Linked DNA regions of Homo sapiens: region 1 is linked to region 2. Evidence: promoter capture Hi-C in 16 types of primary human blood cells and fetal thymus (Javierre and others, 2016). All regions are on one chromosome and are shown on one strand. The core of a region is centred on a gene start or on the middle of the fragment in contact, and the rest is flanking DNA. Distances in the headings are between cores, read along the strand shown. Region 1 overlaps CELF1 (CUGBP Elav-like family member 1). Region 2 holds the start of AGBL2 (AGBL carboxypeptidase 2).

Region 1 (5,553 bases), core at 746-3,245, 230 kb after region 2:
CTTTGAAGTAAACCTGATTATTCCTATTAGTTAGATGAGGAAACAGGCACAGAATGGTTGAGTAACTTTCACAAGATTACAAAGCTACCATATTTCATCTAAATGCTTCTAATTATAATTTTAAGATAACATTGGTTATAAAAAGAGACGTGAAGCCGGGCGTGGTGGGTCACACCTGTAATCCCAGCACTTTGGGAGGCCGAGGCGGGTGGATCACCTGAGGTCGAGAGTTCAAGAACAGCCTGACCAACATGGAGAAACCCCATCTCTACTAAAAATACAAAATTAGCCAGGCATTTTGGCGCATGCCTGTAATCCCAGCTACTCAGGAGGCTGAGGCAGGAGAATCACTTGAATCCGGGAGGCGGAGCTTGCGGTGAGCCGAGATCGCGCCATTACACTCCAGCCTGGGCAACAAGAGCGAAACTCCATCTCAAAAACAAGAAAAAAAGAGATGTGAAAAATACAAAAAACAAATGTGTGTCTTTGAATCTGTAAAATATGGTACAGAGCCAGGATTCAAACCCAGGCGGTCTGGCTCCCAAATCTGTGCCACATTGCCTCTTTAAGTAGTAATATTCAAGTCTTTTCTGTTTTACTCTCTTAGCAGTGGAAGACAGGAAGCTGTTTATTGGTATGATTTCCAAGAAGTGCACTGAAAATGACATCCGAGTCATGTTCTCTTCGTTTGGACAGATTGAAGAATGCCGGATATTGCGGGGACCTGATGGCCTGAGCCGAGGTAGGTAGTTTTAGCTTTTAAATAATCTTTTGGTTTTTTGTTTTGGTTTGGTTTGGGGTTTTTTTTTTTTTGGAGACAAGGTCTTGCTCTCTCTCACCCAGGCTGGAGTGCAGTGGTGCCTTCACAACTCACTGCAGCCTGAACCTCCCAGGATCAGCCTCCTGAGTAGCTGGGACCACAGGCATGCATCATGACACCCAGCTAATTTTTAAATTTTTTATAGAGAAAAGGTCTCCCTGTGTTGCCCAGGCTGGTCTTGAACTCCTGGACTCAAACGATCCTGTCATCTTGGCCTCCCAAAGTGCCAGGATTGTAGGTGTGAGCCACTGCACCGGGCTTGGAATCTTTTTAATTTGACCGGTGGAAACTAGCAACAGTGATTCCCTAGCCAATATGGCCCAGTCAAGATAAAGAGGTTGGGCCTGCTGCTTCCTGCTGTATATCTATGTCCTGTCTTGACTCCTCCTATCAGTTCATTCTTTTTGTCTCCCAGCCCCTCTAAGGAGTCTACATTCTATATTTCATTGTCATGTATTAAAATTTTCTCTTTTGGTGCTTTGCAAGATCCTTGATGCCAAAATGGAAATACTTTCTTCTTCCATTTTCTTTTATTTTCAAGAGGAACTAGAGGATATGAGTCCTCCTTTCTCCTGTCAAGCATTTTTTTTTTCTGTCAGTGGTTCTGTTTTTTCATTATAGCACATATCACCCTGTTGCAACATACCAGCACATGATTCCCTGAAAACAGGGACTGTGTCTGTATTGCTAGCATGATAGTCAGCACATAGTAGGTGCTCAGTTAATGTTTGTCAGAGAAATAAATGAATGCATGAGTTACTGACTCTTCTCTTACCAGGTTGTGCATTTGTGACTTTTACAACAAGAGCCATGGCACAGACGGCTATCAAGGCAATGCACCAAGCACAGACCATGGAGGTAGGGAGCAGATAGGTGATGGGGAAAATTCCTCAGCTTGGGAATGCTGGGACAGTTGGCCATTAAAGTCCAGCAGCATGTGCAGCATCTGATTGCCCAGAAGGTTAAACAGCCAACATCTTAAAGTTAAAAACCACTGATTTCTTTAAAATTAACGTATTGGAAATGCTCTCCCTACCCCTTTTTTTGAGATGGGGTCTTACTTTGTCACCTGGGCTGGAGTGCAGTGGGAATATCATGGCTCACTGCAGCCCCAACCACCCAGGCTCAAGTGATCCCCCCTACCTCTGCCACTCAAGTAGCTGGGACTACAGGTGCACACCAGCACGCCCAGTTAATTTTTGTATTTTTTTTTAATAGCGACCGTTTTGCCATGTTGCCCAGGCTGGTCTAAAATTCCTGGGCTCAAGTGATCCACCCGCCTCAGCCTCCCAAAGTGTTGGGATTACAGTCTCTTCTCTCTTGTGTCTATCATGAGGAGAATCATTTGGCAGTGAATGAAATTAGAATGTAACCTGCATGTCATCCAAAAGGAAGATTTTTTTTCTTCTTTTCAGATGGAGGAATTTGACCCTTTCGTTATGGTCTTTTCACAGGGTTGCTCATCACCCATGGTGGTAAAATTTGCTGATACACAGAAGGACAAAGAACAGAAGAGAATGGCCCAGCAGCTCCAGCAGCAGATGCAGCAAATCAGCGCAGCATCTGTGTGGGGAAACCTTGCTGGTCTAAATACTCTTGGACCCCAGTATTTAGCAGTGAGTCTTTGTGGTTTGCTTTCTGCAGACTGTGCAAGCTCCCAGCTGTTCCTTCTTCTGCTGTCCCTAGCCAACAAACACAGTGGCATTTACAACTTTTGGCATATAGAAATTATATGTAAAAATTCAGGTAGTACTATTTCTTTTAGTCCTGTTAGTCTCTTTCTCTCTCTATATATATGTATCTCTGGACATGCATCTCTGGTTATATCTTGAGGCTTTTGCTGCAACTAAAGTGAATTCCTGGTTTCCCGTTTTAAAGATTTAGAAACATCTTGTGTCCTTGCCTCCAAGAAAGAAATTCCTGAGGGAATCTTAACTACCAGTGTCTTTCTCCATATCTCTTTCTACCAGATGTAGAGGGCATCATTAAAATCCTTATTGAGTCTTTCCTAAAGAGTATGATAAATGTTTCTTTCAGCGGACTTGAGAGATCAAGAGATTTTTTTTCTTTTTTTGCTTTATTTATTTATTTATTTATTTATTTTTTGAGACGGAGTCTCACTCACTCTGTCACCCAGGCTAGAGTGCAGTGGCACAATCTTGGCTTACTGCAACCTCCACCTCGGGTTCAAGTGATTCTCCTGCCTCAACTTCCCAAGTAGCTGGGACTACAGACACACACCATCACACCCAGCTAATTTTTGTATTTCTAGTAGGGATGGGCTTTCACTGTGTTGGCCAGGCTGGTCTCGAACTCACGACCTCAGGTGATCCACCTGTCTTGGCCTCCCAAAGTGCTGGGTTTACAGGTGTGAGCCACTGCGCCTGGCGGAGATCAAGAGATTAACATGAACATTTTTAAATGAGCATTACAGGTGTATATTCAAGTTTACTACATTGTAAATAGACTTCCTTTAATTTGATCTCTCTGTTGTCGTGAGCCAAAAGAAGGTTGTCTAGTCCAAAAGAAGGTCTCGCCCCAATTTGTGATTTAGATTTACTAGGTCTGCAGTGTATATGTTACAGGGGATTATTAATGGAAAAGAATTGGGCCAGCACAAGACAGTTAAAACCACCCATTTGTGAGTCAAAGAGGAAAAAGGTCATCTTAGGCTATTAATGGTGAAACCACTAGATTTGTATGGATGATACAAAAATATTCACATAGAAATAGCTAGTATAGTCATTTATTCCTCATCATTTCAAGTATTATTCTGTATGGAAACAGACAAAAGGCACTGATTTCTGTCTCCCAGTACTGAATTTTGGTTTAGTTCCAGTGGTTTTCATATTTCTAATATCTTATAAGAAATCCCAGTTTAGGCCGGGCGCTGTGACTCACGCCTGTAATCCCAACACTTTGGGAGGCTGAGGTGAGTGGATCGCCTGAGGTTGGGAGTTTGAGACCAGCCTGGCCAGCATGGTGAAACCCTGTCTATACTAAAAATACAAAAAAATTACATGGGTGTGGTGGCAGGTGCCTGTAATCCCAGCTGCTCGGGAAGCTGAGGCAGGAGAATGGCTTGAACCTGGGAGGCGGAGGTTGCACTGAGCGGAGGTTGCAGTGAGCCAAGATCGCACCATTGCACTCCAGCCTGGGCAATAGAGCGAGACTCTGTCTCACAAAAAAAAAAAAAAAAAAAAAAAAAGAAGAAGAAAAAAAAAAAAAACCCCAGTTTATCCTAGCTAGTATTTCTCTGAAGTTTTTTTAAAAAAATATAAAGAGTTGGGGTTGTTTTGTTTTGTTTTGTTTTGAAGCCTCGCTCTGTTGCCCAGGTTGGAAAACAGTGGCGCAATCTCTGCTCACTGCAACCTCCAACTGCAAGCAGCTGGGATTACAGTCATGTGCCACCACGCCTGGCTAATTTTTGTAGTTTTAGTAGAGACAGGGTTTTGCTTATGTGAGCCAGGCTGGTCTCAAACTCCCGACCTCAAGTGATTTGCCTACCTTGCCCTCCCAAAGTTCTGGGATTACAGGCGTGAACCACTGGGTCCGGTTATATTTCAACAGAAAAAATTGTTTCTTAGTGCTGAAACATTGCTTATATGTTCAGAAAATTCAGGGAGGTTTTAGTCATCTGCAGAAATGATAATGCTTTGAAAATGGTCTACATGCTATGCATTTGCTTTTCTTAGAGACTTTTGGAGCCCCCCTTTAGGGAAGGTTAACCTTTTTGTTGTCATTGCCACTACCAGCAAGTACATGATGGCATGTGTTGAGAGCTGTGTTCTCTTTGTTTTGGTTAGACATGATTCCTGCCCTAAGAGCTAATCTCATTTGGAGGGAAATGAAGGGACCAAGTACAGTATTCACCGTCCACCAGTTAGGACTGAACACATAGCCCAAGGTGTTTAAGAAGAAAAAGGCCAGGCGCGGTGGCTTATGCCTGTAATCCCAGCATTTTGGGAAGCCGAGGCAGGCAAATCACCTGAGGTTAGGAGTTTGAGACCAGCCTGACCAACATGGTGAAACCCCGTCTCTACTAAAAATACAAAAATTAGCTGGGTGTGATGGTACACACCTGTGGTCCCAGCTACTCGGGAGGCTGAGGCAGGAGAATCGCTTGAACCTGGAAGGCGGAGGTTGCAGTGAGCTGAGATCACCATTGTACTCCAGCCTGGCGACAGAGCGAGACTCCGTCTCAAAAAAAAAAAAAAAAAAGTGTAGACGTGGGTGCTAGTGGACTGTGTGATAGTACATCATCATTAATTATGAGGTTCTTTCTGGACTATGTGGACTTGAGTTAGCCAGGCTCTACTGTCCTGGAGGAGTTGGTTTTTATCTTTTTATCCTTTGAGAAGCGGGGGGAAAGGGTGTATAGGTGCATTTTTTCCCCCATTCTGTTCCTGGAGGTTTGTAGACCTCCTGAAACTTATCCATGGTCTCTAGCCTGGAAGGATTTGCGGCGACAGAGAAACCAGGTCAGATGTTTATAGGAATGGGAAACAGGTTGAATAAAAGGATCCTGTACAAGAATACCAATTTTCCATAAACAATACTAATTGGGTTTAGTTGGAGCAAAAGTTTTCAGCAAGCTGGTTAGATGAAGGTTGTGGTTTGCCAATATACAAAGTAAACTAATGCCACAAACTCAGGGACAGGCCCTCTTACTTTATTTGTCATGGGACCATCATTGAAGGAGAACGTACTCTGAACCTGGTATAGACTAATCC
Region 2 (5,793 bases), core at 49-2,548:
TTCTGTACTTTCTGTTGTATCACAATCAGGTAAAAGTCACTTTAAACTGAGGAAACGGCAAATTGTGTTTTAAAGCTCTTTGTATTTCTCCAGTTTCTGACCTTGTAAATTTGTATATATGCACTAATAAAGCTTTTTTTATAATCCTGATGGGTTATCCTTTTGCTCGTCAACTCCTGTTATTCTGATTATGTAACCAGGACTTGTTTTTTTTTCTAAGCATATACAATGCAAGGTGCAAACATTTAACAACAGCTTTCAAGAAAATGAGCAGGAGATCTTTAATGGGGAGTGGTGGGGCCAGTTTAGACAAACAGGCTTCTAGTCCCAGATGGTGCTGTGTGATCAAAGTTTTGGGGTCTAATATTATCTATAATATCTAGATTGGTTAATAGCCATATTAGATAATATTTTACCTACTTAATTCCTGGCAATGATGTAATATGGTTAACATTTCAGAAAAAAAGGTGCTTTATAGCTTTTTTCCCCCCACTGATAAAAGTAACAGATACGGTTATATTCATATATAGTTAACCAAAGACACGTGTTTGAATTTTATTGTAGTATATTTATTTTTTTGTTGTTGGTTTTTTGTTTTTTTTTTTTCTGGAGACAGAATTTCGCTCTTGTTGCTCAGGCTGGAGTGCAATGGCACGATCTCGGCTCACCGCAACCTCCGCCTCCCAGGTTCAAGTGATTCTCCTGCCTCAGCCTCCCGAGTAGCTGGGATTACAGGCATGCGCCACCACACCCAGCTAATTTTGTATTTTTAGTAGAGATGGGGTTTTTCCATGTTGGTCAGGCTAGTCTCCAACTCTCGACCTCCCAAAGTTCTGGGATTACAGGCGAGAGCCACCGCGCCTGGCCTGGAGTAAATTTCTATGCATATAATTGATTTTTTTAAACCTAATCAAAATGTGTGATTTGAATTTGTTAGCTCTGTTTCTTAAGATTTGCAGTGTAGAAGGTAATTTTTCCTTTCTAGCTGTGCAGTGGAGAGAATGTTAAGGTGAAAGGAGAGAAGCAGCAGCTCTCTTAGAGCAAATTATGCATAACAGTTATCTAAAGCCAACAGCAAACCAGCTTGGAAGTATGTTGAAGGCTACTGGCATCGTACTCATCAATGCGGTTTCGATTCCGAGGCTGGGGCTGTGATGTATGAGGGGAAGAAAGCCGCTGCCCGCCATACATGTTGCAGACCTTCCCGGGGTCCCCGCTCCCTCCTTGGGGGCGAGGCCTAGCTCCCCGGAAGCGCCCGACCGCCCCGCCCTTTCTCCGCTTCCTGCTTTCGGTTGCTAGACTACCCGGGCCCTCACAGAAGGCGGTGGCGGGCGGGTGCAGCGAGTTTGTCCCCTTGCCCGCACACTGCTTGGCCTCTGTACTTAAGTGCGGTGGCCGCCTGCCTCGCTGGAGCTTCTCTGCCGCAGCCATCCGTGCTGCTTGGGACGGGCCGGGGCGCGAAGGCGGTCGCATCCATCGCTCTGCCCTCCTGGGAAGTTTCTGCTCTCCTTCCCCGCTCCTACCCTTAGGAAACCCCCTCACCACCTGCCCCAGACCAGGTTCCTCTGAACCCTAAATTCAATCTTTAGGGCCCACTTTCCCAACCCCCTGACCTTTTTCCATCGGCACCTACCGAGACGACTTCGTCGCGTGCTCCCATACCCATTTCTTTCACTTTCCTGTGGCGAGCATCTCCTTTCTCAGGGAAAGGGAAGCATGGGGCCAGCACCTTGGGAAGAAGAAGCGGGAAGATACGCTGCCCTCCCTGTCTCAGATGCACCTCTGGCCTCGGCGTGACCACCTTGTTTAGCTGAGGAGAAGCTGGGTTGGCAGGGTTTTCTGAAGTCAAGAGGGAGCTGGGGGGCGCCCGGGGAGGTATTGGCAGTTTTTTCACTTGTCCTCTTGTGGCTTTGTAGCTTCTCTTGTGTAATCAGCTGCCTATTTGGAAATTGGGCAGGGTTTGCGACTGGATGCTAATGTCACTGACTAGTTTTCAGCCTACCATCCAGAAGTAACATGTTCCCAGCTTTGGAAACGCACCTAAAGCAGGTCGGTACACAACACGGAAAGCCACAGAAATTTCTTCGGGGAACTCCATTTCTTCGGGAACTCCACAGAAATCTGCTACTAGATGAGAAGGGATGTTCTGGTGGCATCTTTTCTCAGCTGGAGATCTTGATCCCCACGATAGAATAATTCGCATGGAATGCAGCTCGCTTGGTTTAGTCTAGTCCTATGCAACAACGCTCATGTACTTTTTGTTGAGTCTATTATGGTTTGAAAACATTATCTTGATTGAAGTGGCCTTTCCTTTCACAGACTATTCCTGATCCTTATGAAGACTTTATGTACCGTCACCTCCAATATTATGGCTACTTTAAAGGTAATACCATGTTCTTATCTAGTATCACCTTTCCTGGACTCAAGAGGAAAATTGCTTCGTTAGCTGGGAGGGTTGCACTTGGGTAGACTAATAAATAATTTGCATTGACAAATAAATACTTTTTCCTCTACCATTAGTGAAAAGTACTTCCTTTCCCCATTGATCTGCGGGTCACCTCTGTCAAGTAGACAGCATCACTTAATACAAAGGTCTGTTTCTGGGCTCTCTATTCCATTGGTCTGTTTGGCTATCCTTTACCAGTATCACTGTCTCTTAATTACTATATGGCATTAAAATAGTCTTTATCTGGAAAGACATGTCTTCCCACCTTGTTCTTCAGAAGTGTCACGGCTGTTCTTGAGTCTTTGCCTTACTATATAAATTTTACAATTGGCGGCCGGGCACGGTGGCTCACACCTGTAATCACAGCACTTTGGGAGGCCGAGACGGGTGGAGCACGAGGTCAGGAGATCGAGACCATCCTGGCTAACACGGTGAAACCCCGTCTCTACTAAAAATACAAAAAAATTAGCCGGGCGTGGTGGTGGGTGCCTGTAGTCCCAGCTACTGGGAAGGCTGAGGCAGGAGAATGGCGTGAACCTGGGAGGCGGAGCTTGCAGTGAGCCGAGATCAAGCCACTGCACTCCAGCCTGGGCGACAGAGTGAGACTCTGTCTCAAAAAAAATAAATAAATAAAAATTTAAAAAAATAAATTTTGCAATTGGCTTATGACATTTTATTTTATTTTTTATTTATTTTGAGATGAAGTCTCACCCTGTCGCCCAGGCTGGAGTGCAGTGGCACGATCTCGGCTCACTGCAACCTCTGCCTCCCAGGTTCAAGAGATTCTCCTGCCTCAGCCTCCTGAGTAGCTGGGATTACAGGCACGAGCCACCACGCCTGGGTAATTTTTGTTTCTTTCTTTTTTTTTTTTTTTTTGCGATAGAGTCTCACTCTTTTCACCCAGGCTGAAATGCAATGGCGCAATCTCGGCTCACTGCGACCTCCACCTCCTGGGTTCAAGAGATTCTCCTGCCTCAGCCTCCCAAGTAGCTGGGATTACAGGCGCCCACCACCACTCCCAGCTAATTTTTTTGTGTATTTGTAGTAGAGACGGGGTTTCAACATGTTGGCCAGGCTGGTCTTGAACTCCTGACCTCAGGTGATCCACCTGCCTAGGCCTCCCAAAGTGGTGGGATTACAGACGTGAGCTTACCGCGCCCAGTGTTTTTTTTATTCTTGAGACGGAGTTATGCTCTTGTTGCCCAGGCTGGAGTGCAGTGGTGCAATCTAGGCTTGCTGCAACTTCCACCTCGCGGGGTCAAGCGATTTTCCTGCCTCAGCCTCCCAAGTACCCAGGTAGCTGGGATTACAGGCGTGTACCACCATGCCTGGCTAATTTTGTATTTTTAGTAGAAACGGTTTCACCATGTTGGCCAGGCTGGTCTCGAACTGACCTCAGGTGATCCACCCACCTCAGCCTCCCAAAATGCCAAGATTACAGGCATGAGCCACCACGCTCGGCCTAATTTTGGTATTTTTAGTAGACACAGGGTTTCCTCATGTTGGCCAGGCTGTTCTCGAACTCCTGACCTAAGGTGATCCACCCACCTTGGCCTCCCAAAGTGCTGGGATTACAGGCGTGAGCCACTGTCCCCAGCCCGCTTATGACATTTTAAAAGATTATAGGAATTGCATTAAATCTGTAGATCAAATTTCACAAGAACTGGCAATTTTTCAACACTGGGTTCTCCAATCTATGACTATAATATTTATCTCCATTTACTTAGGTCTTTAATGTCTCCCAATAAAGATTTATAGTTTTTCATAATACTTCATATTTTTATGCTATTATAAATATTGATCTTCTTAAAATTTAATTTCCTAACTTTGTTACTGGTATATTGAAATAAGATGGAGTAATATTCATTGTATTAGTATTAATTTTATTTCTATCAAAGAATGTTGTTAAACTTTTTTATTAACTACATTAGTCCCCCCTTATCTACAGGGGGGAGGTTCCAAGGCCCCTGGATGGCCTGAAACCACTGATAGTACTAAATCCAAATCACTGTCATTCAGAACAGACTTCTATCTTCCACCCACAAATTTAATGCCTTTTCCACCATAACTAAGTACTTATGTACTGTGGCCATTACTTTTGCAATATGAAGTATGACAGCAAAACTATTATGATATTTATTTATTTATTTTTTAGACGGTCTGTTTTTTGCCTTGGCCGGAGTGCAATGTTGCAATCACAGCTCATTGCAGCCTTGACTTCCCAGGCTTAAGCGATCCTCCTACCTCCCAACTAGAAGGGAACACAAGCACATGCCAGCACACCCAGCTAATTTAAAAATTTTTTTTGTAGAGACATGGTCTTACTATGTTGCTCAGGCTGGTCATCATACAATTTTTTACTTTCCATACAAAGTCAAGAACTTCAGGCCGGGCGTGGTGGCTCACGCCTGTAATCCCAGCACTTTGGGAGGCCAAGGTGGGCAGATCACCTGAGGTCAGGAGTTCGAGACCAGCCTGGCCAACATGGCAAAACCCTACCTCTACTAAAAATACAAAAAATTAGCTGGGCATGGTGTTGCACGCCTGTAATCCCAGCTACTCGGAAGGCGGAGGCAGGAGAAATGCTTGAACCCGGGAGGCAGAGGTTGCAGTGAGCTGAGATTGCGCTACTGCACTCCAGATTGTTGAAGTTTCAATACCCTCTTCATGGGGAGAGAGACATTCAGGGAGGGGTTGTGTAGGCAATTGTGAAAGGTAGTAAATGATATTCAGGAGAAACGAATGAGCTCCAAAAACCATGTCCTGGGACAAAGTTCCTCTGAGCTCCGGGGAGGGGTGGCAAGCAAGTGAGGGGAGGAGCTTCACTGAAGAAAGGTTGTCTTATGCAAATAGTTGCCCAGGTAATCTCTGAGTTGCCCTCAGAATTGATGAAAAGTCTATCTGGGTGTCGTGACAATTTTTAGTCTCCTCTTCGGTGGTTCATCTTTAGTGGTTATTTGATGAGATTCCTAGGGAAGGGGTCTTAAAATAACTGCTTTTCTTTTGGAAAGAAGTTTCCTTAGAAGGAATTCCAGAGAGGAGTCCCTTCCTGCTCTTGGGGTAGTGGGGAGACAGGAGAGGTCAGAAAGTCCTTGATTCTGAGGCAGCTTCTGCAAGCCTTTTCTATTTTTTTTTTAATTTATTTTTTCAACTTTTATTATAGATTAGAGGGTACATGTGCAGGTTTGTTACATGGGTAAACTGCATGTTATTGAGGGTTGGAACCCTTTCTATGTTGAATTCAAAGTGTTCAGTATGCCAAAGTGCCAAACCTTTGGGCCATAATTTTTTTTTTCTTTTTTTTTTTTTTTGAGACAGGATCTCGCTCTGTCACTCAGGCTGGAGGG

The links. Contacts are between HindIII fragments. The CHiCAGO score rates a contact against its expected background, and 5 or more counts as called.
Region 1: a contact is called between a fragment that was not itself captured here and the fragment with the promoter of AGBL2 in region 2, in 1 of 17 cell types (M2 macrophages). The highest score is 5.2, in M2 macrophages.

What each region holds. Positions count from the first base shown.
Region 1 is chr11:47,479,578-47,485,130 of GRCh38, reverse strand. CELF1 (CUGBP Elav-like family member 1) reads left to right here. Exons shown (of 15, transcript NM_001376376.1): 7 at 608-742; 8 at 1,599-1,678; 9 at 2,275-2,436. Among named protein-coding and RNA genes, the nearest start is that of RAPSN, 33 kb to the right of the region's middle. The HindIII fragment of the contact is 9,324 bases long and covers 1-5,553 here.
Region 2 is chr11:47,710,874-47,716,666 of GRCh38, reverse strand. It overlaps AGBL2 (AGBL carboxypeptidase 2), which reads left to right and starts at 1,298. Exons shown (of 19, transcript NM_024783.4): 1 at 1,298-1,492; 2 at 1,917-2,049; 3 at 2,320-2,383. The coding sequence starts at 2,017. It overlaps FNBP4 (formin binding protein 4), which reads left to right. Exons shown (of 17, transcript NM_015308.5): 17 at 1-173. RefSeq lists an enhancer at 1,561-1,620. The HindIII fragment of the contact is 6,151 bases long and covers 135-5,793 here.